Linked DNA regions of Homo sapiens: all the other regions are linked to region 1. The links are contacts of gene promoters, found by promoter capture Hi-C in human tissues and cell types (Jung and others, 2019). All regions are on one chromosome and are shown on one strand. The core of a region is centred on a gene start or on the middle of the fragment in contact, and the rest is flanking DNA. Distances in the headings are between cores, read along the strand shown. Region 1 holds the start of DACH1 (dachshund family transcription factor 1). Region 2 overlaps DACH1 (dachshund family transcription factor 1). Region 3 overlaps DACH1 (dachshund family transcription factor 1).

The links. Contacts are between HindIII fragments. The study calls those that stand out against the background at their distance.
Region 2: a fragment that was not itself captured here is called in contact with the fragment with the promoter of DACH1 in region 1 in 1 of the 25 tissues and cell types used here (spleen).
Region 3: a fragment that was not itself captured here is called in contact with the fragment with the promoter of DACH1 in region 1 in 2 of the 25 tissues and cell types used here (mesenchymal stem cells and spleen).

What each region holds. Positions count from the first base shown.
Region 1 is chr13:71,865,422-71,869,036 of GRCh38, reverse strand. DACH1 (dachshund family transcription factor 1) reads left to right here and starts at 1,833. Exons shown (of 11, transcript NM_080759.6): 1 at 1,833-3,115. The coding sequence starts at 2,268. The HindIII fragment of the contact is 6,446 bases long and covers 209-3,615 here.
Region 2 is chr13:71,642,290-71,645,904 of GRCh38, reverse strand. The region is part of intron 2 of DACH1 (dachshund family transcription factor 1); the gene reads left to right. Among named protein-coding and RNA genes, the nearest start is that of DACH1, 220 kb to the left of the region's middle. The HindIII fragment of the contact is 6,494 bases long and covers 1-3,615 here.
Region 3 is chr13:71,674,462-71,678,076 of GRCh38, reverse strand. The region is part of intron 2 of DACH1 (dachshund family transcription factor 1); the gene reads left to right. It also overlaps the pseudogene H3P36. Among named protein-coding and RNA genes, the nearest start is that of DACH1, 190 kb to the left of the region's middle. The HindIII fragment of the contact is 7,632 bases long and covers 1-3,615 here.

The sequences.
Region 1 (3,615 bases), core at 584-3,083:
GATGTATGTGATATATATTGAATTCCTACTTTTACCCATAACAAATTTGAAGACTGAAACATAAATAAAAATTATTTCTGAATGTATTACAATACATTGGTTAACCAGGCCAAACAACTGTTTAAACTTTAGTTGTCCTTGCAGAAGTTCATGGACTTTTCTGCAACAATCGATTTTCTGAATTCTTATCTCCCAGGAAAGCCTCCTGATTTAACTGCTATGTCCCAAAAATTTTAGTATAATCATACACTAATTAGTCCATAGTGTCATATTTCTATTTTTCGGTAGACAGTTCCTGCACTATTTGACACTGCGATTCACAGAGTTCAAAGGCTTAAAATGATATAGAGAAATGTGATCATTTCAACACCAGAATGGCAAAAATTTTATTATAAAATTTCCCAACCCTGTGAACCTGCTACTAACAGTTTATTTTAAAAATCTGTCAAATGCTAAAGCATTGCTTCATATCTTATGAACTTACTGAACATGTGTGGACCGGTTCAAAGGCTAACTAATTGAAGATACTTGGAGACATGAGCAGCAAATAGATTTGACCCATATTCAAATGATATGTTAGTCAAAAATCCTTGAATAAATACTTCAGTGCAACAAGTTAGAAAAGAAAAGAAAAGGAAAGAGGAAGGAAAGGAGGAATAGAGTCAGTCTAAACTCAGCCTCATGTTGTTTTAAGCACAGCTACCCAAGTCTTTACAAGTCAACTAGTGAGCTTTGTTTTTGTTCTTCCCATTATTTACAAAACATATATTTACTGACAAATTGAAAAGGACTTTCCAAAACTACAGCAGCACTTTTCAAACATGAAAAAAAAAAAAAAAAAACTATTGTGTTGTCCAAAAAACACATTAGCAATTGGCTTTGGGTCTTAAAGGACATGAGGATAGTTGGTTACTGTGTAAGACAGGTGAATTAATTATAGAGTTTTGGGTAAGAAAACCCTTTTTCCACTTTCTAAATCTTCAAGGATACCTTATCTCCTTGATAGCTCTAGGTTTAACAGGTATTTCTGACTGGCTTTTGGGGAGACAGTGAAGTTATTCTAAATCATCCACATCAAGGCAAGCATTTCTTTCCACAACCTATTAGGAAATATGGAATTGAATACAGAGCTTTCCATTATTCTTAAGCGATTTCGGACTGACTTTCTTCTCACCACTTGAAAACTGTCCTGGAATTTTCACTATCTTTATATAAATAAATAATTTAGTAGAGAAATAAACAATCAGATGCAAAAGAACATTACGCTTTGCTTACATGTGAATTTTCCTCAAAATAATTTCTGAATAATCGTGAAGTGGGGGCTGTGTTTTCGTTTCTAGCTCATTGCCAAAACGCGTGGAGATGGATCCTAAATCCTGGAAGGAGAGAGCTCGGCGCGCTCAGGCTCCTCTTTAAGTTGGCGGGCGATTGTTTAGAAGCTTTGGAAAAAATTACCAGTCCCCGCGGACGAAATGGAATGTGAGACATGCAATCTAACGGTAGTAGTAGAAGAGAAGTAGATGATCTCCCTCTCCTTTTCCGATCGCCACTTCTGTGTCCCCGGCTTTTCCTCTCCGTCCCTCCCACAGTTTCTTTCCGTATCCTCCCCCTCCCCTCCTCCTTTCCTCGCACGCTCCCTCTCCAGTGTCTCGCGCTCTCGGAGTCTCTGCTCCGAGTTCCTGGTTGGATAATTTGGGTTAATACTAGTGAGTGAGGTTTTTGCGGCTTCAAAGGGTATTTCAAGTTTCCGGAGCTCCTCCCCTCTGCACCGTGTGACAACAACAACTCGTCCAGCCGGCAGCCTGCACTTTTCAGCTCATTTTCTCTCTGTCATTCCCCTCTCAATCTTTGATCAATGTACTTGCCAGGGAGAGCCCAAGTCCTTCAAACCTCCTCCTTTTCACCTTCATCCTTAACTTTGTGCTAGAGCGAGACCCACACAACAACAGCCGACCCTCCCCGCCCCACCCCCACCCCCAAACCAGCCCTCGATCCCAGCCCCCGGAGAGGACTCGCATTTCGACTTGCGGGACACTTTTGTGCGTTCCTCTCCAGAGCGCCTCTCGTGCTCGCCCCTCTTGCGCTCGCTCTTTATTACCTTCACCTCCTTTTCTCCCCCTTCTCTCCCTTTCTCCTTCTCGTTCTCTCCCGGAGTTGTTGTTGCCCCCCTCGCTCCTTCTCCCCCCTTTTTTCCCCTTCCCCTCCCGGGGGTGTGTGGCAACTTTTCCTCTCGCTTCTCCTCCGTCTGTTTCCCCTTATATGTGACCATGGCAGTGCCGGCGGCTTTGATCCCTCCGACCCAGCTGGTCCCCCCTCAACCCCCAATCTCCACGTCTGCTTCCTCCTCTGGCACCACCACCTCCACCTCTTCGGCGACTTCGTCTCCGGCTCCTTCCATCGGACCCCCGGCGTCCTCTGGGCCAACTCTGTTCCGCCCGGAGCCCATCGCTTCGGCGGCGGCGGCGGCGGCCACAGTCACCTCTACCGGCGGCGGCGGCGGCGGCGGCGGCAGCGGAGGCGGCGGCGGCAGCAGCGGCAACGGAGGCGGCGGTGGCGGCGGCGGCGGTGGCAGCAACTGCAACCCCAACCTGGCGGCCGCGAGCAACGGCAGCGGCGGCGGCGGCGGCGGCATCAGCGCTGGCGGCGGCGTCGCTTCCAGCACCCCCATCAACGCCAGCACCGGCAGCAGCAGCAGCAGCAGTAGCAGCAGCAGCAGCAGCAGCAGTAGTAGCAGCAGCAGCAGTAGCAGCAGCAGCTGCGGCCCCCTCCCCGGGAAACCCGTGTACTCAACCCCGTCCCCAGTGGAAAACACCCCTCAGAATAATGAGTGCAAAATGGTGGATCTGAGGGGGGCCAAAGTGGCTTCCTTCACGGTGGAGGGCTGCGAGCTGATCTGCCTGCCCCAGGCTTTCGACCTGTTCCTGAAGCACTTGGTGGGGGGCTTGCATACGGTCTACACCAAGCTGAAGCGGCTGGAGATCACGCCGGTGGTGTGCAATGTGGAACAAGTTCGCATCCTGAGGGGACTGGGCGCCATCCAGCCAGGAGTGAACCGCTGCAAACTCATCTCCAGGAAGGACTTCGAGACCCTCTACAATGACTGCACCAACGCAAGGTGAGTCGGGGGGGATAGCCCCCGCCGCCCGCGCCCCTTCCCACCAGCCTGCTCGCCTGCCCTCGCTCCTTTCCCGGCGCCGCTCGCTCTGCGCGCCCGCGAGCCGCGCGCCCCGGCGAGCGCGGCCCTCTCCTCTCCCTGCTCGGGGCTCGCCAGCCGCGCCCGACCCCCTGAGAAGTTGGCACCTCACCCTGCCCAGACCTCGCTCTTCGGCCCGGTCCTCCCCTTGCCCTCTGGGTCCCGGGGATGGGCTGCTGTGGGATGTGGGAAAGCCGAGCCTCGGGGCGGAGGGGACGAGAGGGAGGAGGACGGCGCCTTTGCTGGAGCCACAGCCCCCTGCCCCGGGCGCGCGGGCGCCTGGAGACCCCTCTCAGCGCTGCTGTCCGCGTTCGTGCGCTCCCCAGGACCTGGGTTCCACGGCCAGCCTCCCGGCACCGACAGGGCTGATCTGTGGCGCCGAGCGGTGTCCCGGGGGCGGGGGGAGGTCGTGACCTGCTCCG
Region 2 (3,615 bases), core at 361-2,860, 220 kb after region 1:
GACTTATTAGGCCACCAGGCTAGTGCAGCAATGTTTAGATATTTCAATCAAAGAACTGTGTTCTATTACCCTAGGATCTATGTCAAGCTGTGGATTAGGTTAAAAAACCAACAAAAGCTCCTGGTGGTTGAAAGATTCTAAGTATTTGCTACATTACTGCATTGCAGGCATGAGCACGTTCTTTCAGCGTTTTAGTTTCACAATGTTACAATTAATTAATTGTGTCTGTCTAGCAAAAACACTAGTCGGAGTTACTGTCTGCACTTTTAATAAATCCTTTGAATTCCCTTGATCTTTCCTTATTCTTATCCTCCCTGTGTACTGTAGCACAACTTTCCCAAGCCCATAAAAATCTGATTAATGGAACAAAGAATTAGACTTGAGATACCTGCTTTTGTTACTCTCCCATGCTTCTCTGACCTTGAGATCACCTTCTAAATGTACCTCAGGCTTTTTCTCTTAAAGAAGAGTAAATGAGATGATTGAAATTATAAACCATGACCACTCTTGCTATTACTAAATCGTTTACGCACATACATGCAACTTGTCATTCACTTATGTACATTCTAAACTACAGTGTTTCGTTCTAGAAAGTAGTTGATATTTCTGCATTTTTCTTCACCTTTTTCTTCTTAAGCTCCCCAGTTATATGCCTATGTCAAAATTATGCAGTAAATAAAGAGGGGGGAGAATCATGTTTATCAATTGCTCTTCCGACAATGCTTCCCCTCCTAAACTTGGAGTAGCACTTTATGGTTTCTTGCGTAAAATCAAACCTGCTCGTTGATTCTAAAACCCTCTACTAATTTAATGAAAACCAATTATTCCAACTTGCTTTGGATTCTGGTATCTAGGCTTAACCACATTTTTCGAAACACCGTGTTTGTATCCTTAATATTCTATGAATAAAACTTGATTTTTTTTTTCCATTCATGATTCAGGTTAGATGGTCTCTTCTCAGAAGTCTCCTTTACTATTCTTGGCAAATACAGAAAAGAAACAGAGCTGCTGCTATAAACCTGCTCCATCCTTGACCCCAGAAGAACTCATTGCCTTCCAGCTGTGCAGAGTGCACTTCTTAGTAGGGAGCCTGGTCTTGCTTTCACCTGGTGCTGCTGGTGTAAGCAGCCATCATGTTCAGATTCAAAGGTGGCCAAGATAGCATCCTGGGGACATGTCCCTGGAATGAAGTAGAGCCCCAGTTCTGTCCAAATGCTGCTAGGTGGAATAGGGTTGGGTGCCCTGCTGAGAGCATTGTGATTTGTGGATAGAACCTGGCAGAGAGGGCCCCGTTAGTACAGAGCCAGCTCTCTTTCCCCTTTTCTTGCGGAAGATCTGAGGTATGATGCAAAACATTGCTTCTTCCTTGTCTCACAGTTTATATGAACTCTGTTGGTGACAGGAGGATCTACCTTATTTATACTGTGGCGTGGAAGTGGAATTGAGGCTGTGACAACTTTCATCCTCAACACAGTGCCAGCTGAAAAAGTGGATGTAGTTGAGAAGAACTCAGTTCGTTTACTTCTCTAGAAAATACTGATATAAAAACTACACATAGACCATTCATTTTTGGTTGAGAATATTAGCTAAGAAGATAAAAGTGTTCCTTTCAAAAATTTTAATTGTATATCAATTAATTATTTTGCTACTAGCATTTCTGATGACAGAGGAAGGATTTCTGCGTTAAAACAGGTCAGATAATACATAGATACTGTTTTATTTACAATGCATTTAATTAATATCAAAACTACAGTTGACTTTGTGCAATAATGACAAGATTATAAGGCATTATGTTGTGCTAAGCAGGAGACTACAATTTAAGAGTTAGTCTTTTCGGGAAGAAAACATGTCCCCCTCCTCCCTTTTGTAGTTTTACGTTGAGCTAGAGAGATTGTTTTCTAAGATTCAACACCTAAAGAAAGCATTTTTTTAATATTGTTCAAAGCTGACCTCTGCTTTTAGAAAAGTTTATCTGCACTTTTTCATCTGTTTAGAAACATATATTTTTGGTTAAGAGATCGAAGACAATCTCTCTTTGTCTTTTTTTTTTCTTCTTTCCCTGAGCTAGGAAGGTTGAGATAAAAAAGAATGACTGCTTTAAAAGTCACACATGGCTGTAATTTAATATTTTTTTCCTCTCATTGTCCGTAACAGTTGAAAGAAACCTTCAATGAAAGTTTATTAACTAGGCCAATGCCTGAGGCAATAAAGGTTCATTTATTACCAGTTTCTTGGCTGTTTTTCTTCTTCTATTTTTCGGTTAAACTCATAGCGTAAGATAATACTTCACAAAATTAAACCTTTGACCTTCTGTAGAGTTAAGTCTCCTTTGATTAGATAAAGTAACAATTTATGGTCCAGCATGAGGTTGCACATGAAATGAATAATGCAACAGACTCCGTGTGGACTGAGAATCTATTGCTTTTGAAAAGATGAATGCTGTTTAAAGGGGAGAAAGTCCGCTTAAGTGTGTTGTCTTTATTCAGTATGCACTTTAGCAATATTTCAAAAGGCTTTACCTCCAAGATAAAGTTATGTTTGAATTTTCTAATTCTCATAAGAAAGATGTATGGTAAGAGTATTGCAAAAAGCTTTTGAAACTCTTTGTAGGACTGTCATACATGTCATTATGCCACATATTCCAGGTATTACAAATGGCTGAATTATGAAATCTAATAAATGCATGAGAAAAATGACCATTGATTTTACAAATGGAGTTCCAAAGGATGGGACAATTAGAATATTGTAATTTCTAATCACATTATGTGCCACTGTGAACATTGCATAAATCAAAATGATATTTAATAACTTCATCTTAAGAAGAAAAGTAACAATAATAAAATATAATAATATTAAACTGAATTTGTAATTTTTTTTTTTGAGATGGAGTCTCACTCTGTCTCCCAGGCTGGAGTGCAGTGGCGCGATCTCTGCTCACTGCAACCTCTGCCTCCCAGGTTCATGCCATTCTCCTTTCTCAGCCTCCCGAGTAGCTGGGATTACAGGCACGTGCCACTATGTCTGGCTAATTTTTGTATATTTTTTTCAGTAGAGATGGGTTTCACTGTGTTGGCCAGGCTGGTCTCGAACTCCTGACCTCAAGTGATCTGCTCGCCTCGGCCTCCCAAAGCGCTGGGATTACAGCCATGAGCCACTGCGCCCGGCCTGAGTTAGTAATTTTTAAACCAATCCATGGGAGTTCAGTCTTTGGTTATTGTGATGTATTAATGTTTGTAGATAACAGCAGTGTTTTCAATTTTGTTTTGTTTAAGTCACCTTATAAATTTGAACTGTCATAACTCATTGACAAAAAAGAGTGACTAGATGTGAAATGTTCAGATATTTCTATTTTTCTATGTTCTTTTGAACATTTTTTGGAAAAGTTAAAAAGAATCTCAAATCCATCCATGAAAACATTGTATTGGAATTACCTAATTGCTACAGAAGAGATATACGTACTTGTAGAATCAGAATTGATGTTTACTTGTATCTTCAGCCAGTGGAAGTAGAGAGATGTATACATAGCATAGGTCGGTGTTTCTCACGAAGCTTTTGTGATTAGCTGGTTATTTAAATTACTAATTGACATGCAGAAGTTGAATGCTTGAGAGAAGT
Region 3 (3,615 bases), core at 645-3,144, 190 kb after region 1:
TTTGTCCTGTGAAAAGAAAATGGATTAATTTAGACAAATTTATAAATACCTATTGATCGGCTAGGGGGCGGTGGCTGATGCCTGTAATCTCAGCACTTTGGGAGGCTGAGACAGGCGGATCATGAGGTCAAGAGATCTAGACCATCCTGGCCAACATGGTGAAACCCCATCTCTACTAAAAATACAAAAATTAGCTGGACATGGTGGTGGGCGCCTGTAATCCCAAGTATTTGGGATGCTGAGGCAGGAGAATCGCTTGAACTCGGGAGGCAAAGTTTGCAGTGAGCCGAGATCGCACCACTGCACTCCAGCCTGACAACAGAGTGAGACTCTGTCTCAAAAACAAAACAAAACAAAAAACCAAACAAACAACACCTATTGATTCAGTCCTAATCACTTTTATTGTTTCTTTTCAAGAATTGAACATTGGAGTTAAATAATAGTTTTCCCTGGATGCATTTGTTTTCTTAGGAAAAAAAAGACTTTTTTTAAAAAAAATGTATTTTCCCAGTCTTAATATTAAGTATTTAGGTATCTATACTTGAAACAAAAACAAAAACAAATACAAAACAAAACAACAAACTTTGAGATTGCTTGTGGAATTTTTATGTGTTATTTTGGCTGCTTGAGTGGGCTTGTGTGTAACCTTAGAAGGGGTGTGGGCAGATGGTGATAATTTCTAAAAGTTATGGTTGTCACCGGATGCCATAGCAACCAGAAGTTGAAGTTAATGAAAGAAAGAAAGTTCTTTGTAGAGTCACACAAGGCAATACCTCCTGCTGTGGTCACTGCATTTATTTTGACTGAGCACTTGTCATAAATCATTTTTGATAATAACTACCAGTTTGAAATAATTCATCCTAGCAACAGACTTCCAATAACATTCATACTTTTTATAAGATGACGTCTATTTAAAATTAAGAAAGGGGTTATTTAGGAATTCAAAATACTCCCCTCTTGTCCAGGAATGCAATTTGGATAGTGTATTTGCCAACTTTCTGATTTCATCTTTAAGTCAGTATGCAAATTAATTTTGAAATACAATTTTCATAAAAATACTAAGAATTAATTGAGTCCTCAGTATTTGCCTTTGACATATAAAAATTATTTAGTATCTTAAAAATACACTCAAATTAAATGAATGAATGATTTGTAGTTTTGTCTGTTGGATATGTCTTTTCCCTCACTGTGATCTTGTAGACATATAACTAATACGTATTCAGGTAAAGAAAGCAATTCTACACACATACCTTATGCTTAAAAGGTAAGAATTTATAACTTGCAAATTTATCGTTTTGGAAAAAATACTGGACCGGGGCAATATTAATCTAGAATTAATCCCATTGAAACATTCTTATCTTTAAAAAAATTTAGAGAAAAATGTTCTCATGTAGTGAATTCATAAACATATTTCAAATTTAATTTTCTTTTTTTCTACTAAATAGTAAACAGCAACAATATCTAAACAACCTCTTTTGTAATATTAGCATTTGTAATAGTTTAAATGCATTAAACATTTCAACTTCTCAGGAGAAAATTTACAATGTAAAACTGTGCCTAGGCTGGGCACGTGGCTCATGCCTGTAATCCCAGAAATTTGGGGGGCCGAGGCGGGTGGATCACCTGAGGTCAGGAGTTCGAGACCAGCCTGGCCAACATGGTGAAACCCCATCTCTACTAAAAATACAAAAATTAGCTGGGCATGGTGGCAGGTGCCTGTAATTCCAGCTACTCGGGAGGCTGAGGCAGGAGAATCGCCTGAACTCGGAAAGAGGAGGTTACAGTGAGCCAAGATCACACCATTGCACTCAAGTCTGGACAAGAGAACAACACTCCATCTCAACAAAAAAAAAATTGTGCCTTGTATGTTGAGAAGTTTATTATAATAAATGCTCTGTATTTCATTGGGATACTCACAAGTAAGGAGAACACAAAAATGCACAAGTATAAAACAGCCGCAAATTGTTGGATTGTCTTCACTAATAAATTAAACATAACAATCTACTGTATGCCTTACCCAAAGAATAAATCTCATATTTACTATTTAAACACTTGATGTTTATACAATGTTTGTATTTTTTTTATAGTTTAATGTATTTTAATAGCAAACTTACAGGAACAGCACAGAAGACAGACAACATTAAAAACATGTACTTGCATGTAGTACAACTCAGAAAAGTATAGTGAATGGATGGAATCTACTGTATGATAAAAATGCTACAAACACCATTTAGTTGCCGTCAATAAGAAGTTTACTTGTTTTAAAAAAATCCAAATGCTGGCATTGTCCAGAAAAATTTAACAGGTTTATTTATGATTATTATAAAGTTGAACCGCTGAAACTTGTTCACTGAAACATTTTAACTTGCATTAATGCTTTACGTCTCCACATTTATATTAAAAATTCACACACAAATGAAAACGGAAAAACTGCCAATACCTGATTTCTGTCCCCTATTTTTCCACTCGCAATCATAGACTTAGGTACCTTTTGACCCCATGGAAAAAAAATATCTAACGTTCAGAACTACCAATAACAGGAAGAAGAGAAAAAAAAAAATTTTTTTTTTGAGAATGAAATGTTTCCCATCATAGTGGATTCTTAAGCACGTTCTCCACGTATGCGGCGTGCTAGCTGGATGTCTTTTGGCATAATTGTTACACGTTTGGCATGGATAGCACACAGGTTGGTGTCTTCAAAAAGGCCAACCAGATAGGCCTCACTTGCCTCCTGCAAAGCACCGATAGCTGCGCTCTGGAAGCGCAGATCTGTTTTAAAGTACTGAGCAATTTCTCGCACCAGACTCTGGAAGGGAAGTCTGCGAATCAGAAGTTCAGTGGACTTCTGATAACGTCTAACTTCACGGAGCGCCACAGTACCAGGCCTGTTACGATGAGGTTTCTTCACCCCTCCAGTAGAGGGCGCACTCTTGCGAGCGGCTTTTGTAGCCAGTTACTTCCTGGGTGCTTTACCACCGGTCGATTTGCGGGCAGTCTGCTTTGTACGAGCCGTGGTACAGAGACCTCCTTACTTACCCCCCTTCTCTTCGGCTGGAGCTCGGCGAGCGAGAGGCGGCGCTGGCGTTGGAGAGCGACGGCAGCGCGGTGGCGGCTGCGAACACCGTTTGTATGTGTTTTCATATATTTATATATCTAGGAAATATTTGAGAGGTTTGATACTAGACATTTTGTTGAGGATAGCACATTTAACCTATAACTACTTAGTACATGTTCCCTTTGTACTTTTCTTGAAGAGAAAAATTAAAGGGTATGTCTTCTTTTTTTTTTCCTTTTTGTAAGGCCCACCTAAACTTTAGACTTCATCATGCAATTTATTAGTTTCCTGTGCCTGCCGTAACAAATTACCACAAGCTTAGTGGCAAAACCACAATTTATACTTGCAGAGTTATGGAGGTTGCGAGTCCAAAATCAGCATCACTGGGCTGAAATCATGGTGTCAGCAGGGTACCCCCTCTGGAGGCTCTAGGGGAGAATCCAGTCCTTTCCTCTTTGAGCTTCTGGGAGCTGCAGGCATTTCTTGGTTTTGTGGCTGCCTGGCTCCAATTTCTGACTCTGTGGTAATGTCGCCTTCGTGTGTGTGTGTGTGTGTGTGTG